Regions from separate parts of the Homo sapiens genome. Here region 2 is linked to region 1. Evidence: promoter capture Hi-C in 16 types of primary human blood cells and fetal thymus (Javierre and others, 2016). All regions are on one chromosome and are shown on one strand. Each heading gives the region's core, a stretch centred on a gene start or on the middle of the fragment in contact. The rest is flanking DNA. Distances are from core to core; before and after follow the strand shown. Region 1 holds the start of TDRD1 (tudor domain containing 1). Region 2 has its middle 93 kb from the start of ADRB1.

What was found. The method cuts DNA at HindIII sites, captures the fragments that hold promoters and counts their contacts. A CHiCAGO score of 5 or more calls a contact.
Region 2: a fragment that was not itself captured here is called in contact with the fragment with the promoter of TDRD1 in region 1 in 1 of 17 cell types (neutrophils); the score reaches 5.1 in neutrophils.

What each region holds. Positions count from the first base shown.
Region 1 is chr10:114,177,541-114,181,164 of GRCh38, forward strand. It overlaps TDRD1 (tudor domain containing 1), which reads left to right and starts at 1,813. Exons shown (of 25, transcript NM_001395205.1): 1 at 1,813-1,876. The HindIII fragment of the contact is 8,256 bases long and covers 1,355-3,624 here.
Region 2 is chr10:113,949,064-113,952,407 of GRCh38, forward strand. No RefSeq gene overlaps it. Among named protein-coding and RNA genes, the nearest start is that of ADRB1, 93 kb to the right of the region's middle. The HindIII fragment of the contact is 1,628 bases long and covers 713-2,340 here.

The sequences.
Region 1 (3,624 bases), core at 563-3,062:
CAAGGTCATCAAAACAAAGTCTAAGGAAGTCCCATGGCCAAGAAGAGCCTAAGGATCCATGAAAACTAAATGTAATATGATATCCTGATGAGATCTTGCATCAGAAAAGGGACAGTAGGTAAAAACGAAGGAAATCAAAAAGATGGGCTTTAGTTAATACTGTATCAATGTTGGTTCCTTGGTTCCTTAATTATAACAAATGTATCATGCTAACAGACCATGCTAATAATAGGGGAAACGATGTGGCTTCTGTCAGAACTCTGTACAGCACCTTCTTTTCTTTCTTTCTTTTTCTTTTTTTTTTTTTTTTTGAGACAGTCTTGCTCTGTTGCCCAGGCTGGAGTGCAGTGGCAGTGATCTTGGCTCGGTGAAACCTCCGCCTCCTGGGTGCAGGCGATTCTCCTGCCTTAGTTTCCCAAGTAGCTGGGATTACAGGCGCCTGCCACCACACCCAGCTAATTTTTTTTTATTTTTTTATTTTAAGTAGAGACGGGGTTTCACCATGTTGGCCAGGCTGGTCTCGAACTCCAGACCTCAAGTGATCTGCCTGCCTCGGCCTCCCAAAGTGCTGGGATTACAGGCATGAGCCCCCACGCCCAGTCAGCACTTTCATTTCACTATTCTGTAAATCTGAAACTGCTCTAAAAAATAAATTTAAAAGACACATCAACTAAAGAAAAAAAATCAGGCTTTTAAAGAATTGAAGTTAGTGAAGTTAGTTTTATTCAGAGTCTTACTGAGGACTGCAACCAGGGAGAGCCCAGAGAATTTCTGTTAAACTACTCCAAAGCAGTGGGTCAGCACACTTTAAATATTAGGTGGTAGAGGTTCTGCCCAGGGGTTACATTAAAAGTGCCCAGAAGCTATATAAGATCAAAATATTTTCAAAGTTTGGGTGCGAGAGTAAGTCTAGGCATCATCATTAATCTTGTCCGTTAGGTACAGAAAAAGGCAAGGCCTAGATCTCTGAAAGTATCTTTTCTAAAAATGCAGTGACTCTGAGAGGTGGGAACCTGAGTTCTCTCCGCAGTCTTCAAGGCATTCTTCTGGAGGGCTGAGATGTTACTAAGTCAAGGGGTCTGAAATGCTGACAAACACAGTGAACAAACGTGGCTTTTTCACAGTGAGGGAGGACTATGCTGGGGGCCAGAAGCAGACGTTCGCTACTTTGTCTCACATTTACAATTCTCGGATTTGCTTCAAAACATTGCCCGAAGAGTGCCTGGGCTGCAGATGTAGACAAGATTAACCATGAATTGATAAGGTAGAAACTAGATGATAGGCACACAAGGGTTCCCTTATGAAATTGTTAGAAAAGTTCCATAGCAAAAAAAAAAAAAAACAAAACTTAAAAAGCTTGTCTTTAAGTAACACCAACAGGTATAATCACATGCCCTCAGTCAGGAAGCAAAGAAAAAAAGTATGAGCACGTGTGTGTTTACTTTCCAAGACCAGGCAGAGGCTGTTGATTATTTGGAAAACCTTGGAAGACCTTTAAGTGGCCACGGTGACCCAAGTGACCTTCGAGGAGACAAAGTCTGCATCTTTGCGCCCAAATTTGCCAAAGGCGTTGCCAGAGACATCTTTCTAGAAGAAGCTAGAACAAAATAAAAGTTTCTGCAAAGGAACTTTTTGAGCCTGTAACTAGAGCACAAGCTGCTTCCGGGGAAGGCGGAGGGAACACGTGGGCACATTGAGTTGCACGTGGACGCGGAGTGCGCAGGCGTGCGCTGAGGCCAGGAGGGCGCACTGGGGATTGGAGGCGAGGGAAGTGCAGGGCGCATCCCAGGCGGCAGGGCTCCCAGCATCGGCAGTCGCCATCACCGCCAGACCGCAGAGACAGGTTCGGATCCGCGGTCCTCTTGCCTCTTTCCAGGTCAGGGTTCCCAGGCGTATAGGGGAGGGAGAGGGCCTGCATGAAGGGGAAGGGAGGGGGCTTCGGTCGTTGGGGGCCAGACGTTGGGCGCTGGACGTTGAGGTTGGGCGTTGAGCGGGTACAAGGGGCCTGGAAGTGGAGAGAGGAGACTTGGAACCTTGCTGCGAGGGTTTGGTGTGGGAGGATTCTCTGAGTTTGGAAATAGCGCTTCCAGGCATCACTCCTTCAAATGCAAACGTTCACCTTCTCTCTAAGAGAAACTTGCATGTGGATTCAGTGCCTTCGTTTGACTAAAAATTACGATACAAACAATATTAACATTTACTAGACTTTTTTTTCCCTACTTTCCTCCTATAGGAAAGGAAGATGTGCTAGGGCATTTACTTAGATGTGGGTCAGCTGGCGCTAGTTTGTTTAAGGAGTTCCTGCTGTGTGCCAGTAGCTTTTCCGGGCCCTAGGGTCCTTGCTATAAATACGTTAGCCCTGCTGGGCTTCTGAACTAAGGGAGCTAAATGCTTCCAGCTTCCTTAGTGAGGCAGCACGGTGCTGTATGCTTAAATCCAAGGCCGTGGAGTCTGACCTGCGTTTTTATCTAAACTGTGTAAGGTGCTGGCCCTGGGTGGTTTGGTAAGTTATTCCAACTTCCCACGTCTCCCTTGTTTATCTGTAGGAATAACGAAATAAAAATACTTTAGTCCTCAAATTATTTTCATCTTAAGCCTGCAAGCTGGTTCCACAGGAATGGAAGAAATTTTGTGCTTGTAGGAGTGGTATAAAAGTAAAGCAGAAATAATAGCTGCCCTTTAAGCCCTTAGGAAGTACTAGCCACTGTGCTAAGTGATTTACTTCGTCTCTCATTTAATTCTCGTGATTAGGATTTGTGAGGAAGTTAACTACTGCCCTCTGCATTTTACAGTCGCTGAATCCTAGAAAGATGAAGTGATTTGCCCAAGATAGCGTGGCTAAATGAGGAAGACGAGACTTACCTGGCTGACTTAAGAGCTCATGCTTTACCGAAGCGTTGCGTTTTGTCTGTTTAAAACCGGAGTGTTTTTGTTTGTTCTTTGAGTAAGAGTTTCACTCTTGTTGCCCAGGCTGGAGTGCAATGGCGCGATCCCAGCTCACTGCAACCTCCGCCTCCCGGGTTCAAGCGATTCTCCAGCCTCAGCCTTCCTAGTAGCTGGGATTACAGGCCAGCCACCGGCGCCCTGCTAATTTTTGTATTTTTAGTAGAGACAGGGTTTCACCATGTTGGCCAGGCTGGTCTCCAACTCCTCACCTCAGGTGATCCGCCCACCTCGGCCTCCAAAGTGCTGGGATTACAGGCGTGAGCCACAGCGCCCAGCCAAAACCGGAGTGTTTTCTTTGAGTAGAATGGTTCTTGCAGAATACATGGGGTTGCCAGGAAGACAAAAGCAAACATCAGAGAAGGAAAAAAATGACAGCTGAGTATCTGTGCATACACTTTTGTTGTTAAAAGAACTCCAGCCTGTGGTATCCTAGAGGGAGAAGAAATGACTTACCCCACTATTCATAGTGTATCTTAGGAAGCCCCCAGCAACATCAGGGAGAACCGATAGGATTCCAAAGAAAAGAGAGGGTCTACCCTTAGGGAGCTTCAGGACTTAATGGGTTCAAAGCGTGAAGTACAGAACAAAGAAATCCAGAAAGCTGAGCCCTCATTTTTGCCTGTAGAACTATAGAAATGAGTCACTTTCAGTCCACTACTCTTCTAGTACATCAGTGAT
Region 2 (3,344 bases), core at 277-2,776, 230 kb before region 1:
TGGACAGTGCTGGTATAGAACTCAGTTTTCTTAGGATCTAAGTCTCTACATTCAGACCAGGAAGACAATGTGTTGGCCTTGCCTGCCTGCCTTGCACAGTCAACCCATTTTTCCCAGGCTGCAAGAGAAGCAGAGCAAAACTTTACTTCTTGCTCATTATTCATTCCAAAAATCCTGAGAAAGGAGGTGAGCATAGGACTTTCCTCAGTCACTCAAAAGCTCCAAAAGGAATTAAATTCTCATTTTTCTCCAAAGGCAAAGCCATGGTAGTTCCTGCAGCAGGCGACCCTTGTTTCCAACAGTACCTCTTATTTAGACATACTCATTATTTCAGTATCGTCTTTGTAATTCACTGTTCTTCTAACTAACCAATTAATAAACTGTGTTTGGAAAACCATTTATTAGCAGCCAACTCAAGGATATCCCTGGTTGGAAATGTTTAGGCATAAGTCATATCATTATTGCTAGGTGCTGCCCTGACTTAAATCTCCTAAAAGAAATTTCTATAACCAGTGCTTGGGAGATAGGAATACCTATACCAGCTCTTTGACTAGCAGCTGCGTGATCTTGAGAAATCCACTTCCCTGGGCTGCACATTCATCATCTATAAAATTGGCAGGTGCTTTCTAAGGGTCTTTCTACATTTTATGTTAGATTTAAAATTCTAGACTTAAGAAACCTCAGTTTTTTATATTGGATCTTGACTGGGACAAGCTTAATGATTTCTATCATAATTACGATGCAGTAACAAAAAGTTGAGCTTTTTGTAGTCAACTTTCCAATATTATTCAGAAGTTTTCTGACTATCTTATAACATTTCTCTTCTTTTAAGTTTGAGGTTATCGAATCTAAGCAGCAGAAGAACCCTTAGTATGTCCTTGTTATTTTATAGTAAAAATCACATCTGGTTTGTGTAATCACCCCAGAGTAGCAATTTAGTAATGTCTTTCTAGAACTGTAAAGGTCATCTCCCATGATCCTATAGTCTCCTTGGAATCTATCTTAAGGAAATTATCAGAAATTTGAACAAAGATTTATACAGAGAGTTAATGAACCAAGCTACTTAACAAAGCAAAATAATAATATAATAATAAACACAATTGGAAAGAGCCAGATGTCTAGTAATGGGTGAATGGCTAGATAGGAAGATGATACATAGATAGATAGACGATAGACAGATAGGTAGACTGGTAGACAGATGATAGATAGATAGACAGGTAGACAGATGACAGATAGATAGACAGGTAGACAGATGATAGAGAGACAGGTAGACAGATGATAGATAGGTAGACAGATGATAGACAAGTAGACAGGTAGATGATAGGTAGATAGACAGGTAGATAGATGATAGATAGGCAGACAGATGCTAGGTAGATAGATAGACTGATAGGTAGACAGGTGATAGATAGACAAGTAGACAGGTAGACAGATGATAGGTAGATAGCTAGACAGGTAGATAGATGATAGATGGATAGACAGGTAGACAAATGATAGATTGGTAGATAGATAGATAGATAGATAGATAGATAGATAGACTGGTAGACATGATAGATAGATAGATAATGGATACATAGACATATAGGTAGACAGATGATAGATAAACAGATAGATATGTAGATAGATAGATGGACAGATACAGTAAATCCATACAATAGAATGTTATCACAATATTACCAATGATTTCTACAAGCTGCTTCACAACAGGGGAAATGCTCCTGACGTATATTTTCAAAATCAGATTGGAAGACAATTCTTCAAAATCTTAACAGCAATTCTACCTAGGGAGGGGTCTTTATGGGTGATTTTTATTTTCATTGTCATGCTTTTCTATATATTTTCCTAATTATTTAATAATTCCAATTACTTTAACAATCAGAAAAATAGTGACTTTTTTTTTTTTGAGATGGAGTCTCTCTCTGTTGCCCAGGCTGGAGTGCAGTGGCACGATCTCAGCTCACTACAACCTCTGCCTCCCGGGTTCAAATGGTTCTCCTGCCTCAGCCTCTTGAGTAGCTGGGATCAAAGACACGCACCACTACACCCAGCTAACTTTTTATATTTTTGGTAGAAATGGGGTTTCACCATGTTGGCCAGGCTGGTCTCGAACTCCTGACCTCAAGTGATCCACCTGCCTTGGCCTCCCAAAGTGTTGGTAGTACAGGCGTGAGCCACTGCGCCCGGCCAAAACAGTGACTTTTAAAAAGAGAAATCATTGTGCTTTTCTAAGCCCTGTGGTGTTGAAGGCTTTGTTTGGTTCTGTGGTGGATTCATAGCTGAAGTGGAGAATCTAGCAACCCACTTGCTTTTGAACAGGACTCAGTGCATTATGGTGTTCAATGAAGCTTTGGTTCATGATCAAATGAAGACTTAGAAAAAAATAAAGTATAAAGAGTCAAGGAAAATAATTTTTTTTTTCAAATGAATGCTGCAGAATTTTTTTTTTTTTTTGAGACAGAGTCTTATTCTGTCTCCCAGACTGAAGTACAATGGTACAACCTCAGCTCACTGCAACCTCTGCCTCCTAGGTTCAAGCGATTCTCCTGCCTCAGCCTCCCTAGTAGCTGGGACTACAGGTGCATGCCACTATGCCGGACTAATTTTTGTATTTTTAGTAGAGATGGATTTTCACCACATTGGCCAGGCTGGTCTTGAACTGCTGAGCTCAAGTGATCCGCCTGCCTTGGCCTCCCAAAGTGCTGAGATTATAGGCATGAGCTACCACGCCTGGCCGGAATGCTGCAGAAAATAATTGTGATGAATGGAGAGGGAAGAGTGATCACAGGAGCCTGGTGGAAATGAAGTCTTTATGAGGGACACCTGTATTCGTCTGTGCAGGCTGCCATAACAAAATACCACAGACAGGGTAACTTAAACAACAGAAGTTTATTTTCTCTCAGTTCTCGAGGTTGGAAGTCCACGTTCAAGGTGTATCTTTGATTTCTCCTGAAATCAGTCTTTCCTTGGCTTTCCTGGTCTGTGCAACCGCATCACTGGTGTCTCTCTGTGAGTCTAAATTTCCTCTTTTTATAAAGACACCAGTCAGATTGGATTAGAGGCCACCCTAACAGCTGCATTTTAACTTATCACCCCCTTACAGGCCCTATCTCCAAATGCAGTCACATTCTGAGGTACCGGGCATTAGGGCTTCAATATGTGAACCTGGTGGGACACAATTTAGTCCTTAACACACCCATCCTAAATGATTCCCTTGAGAGGCTGAGCGGCAGGGAAGCTGGGAAGATGATTATTCTTCAACTGCCAGCAGGTGTTGGTGGAGAGATGCTTGTCGAACCGAGGAGGGGAGGCGTTAATTCCCTGGCATTTCCAGCCAAAGGCCACAAACT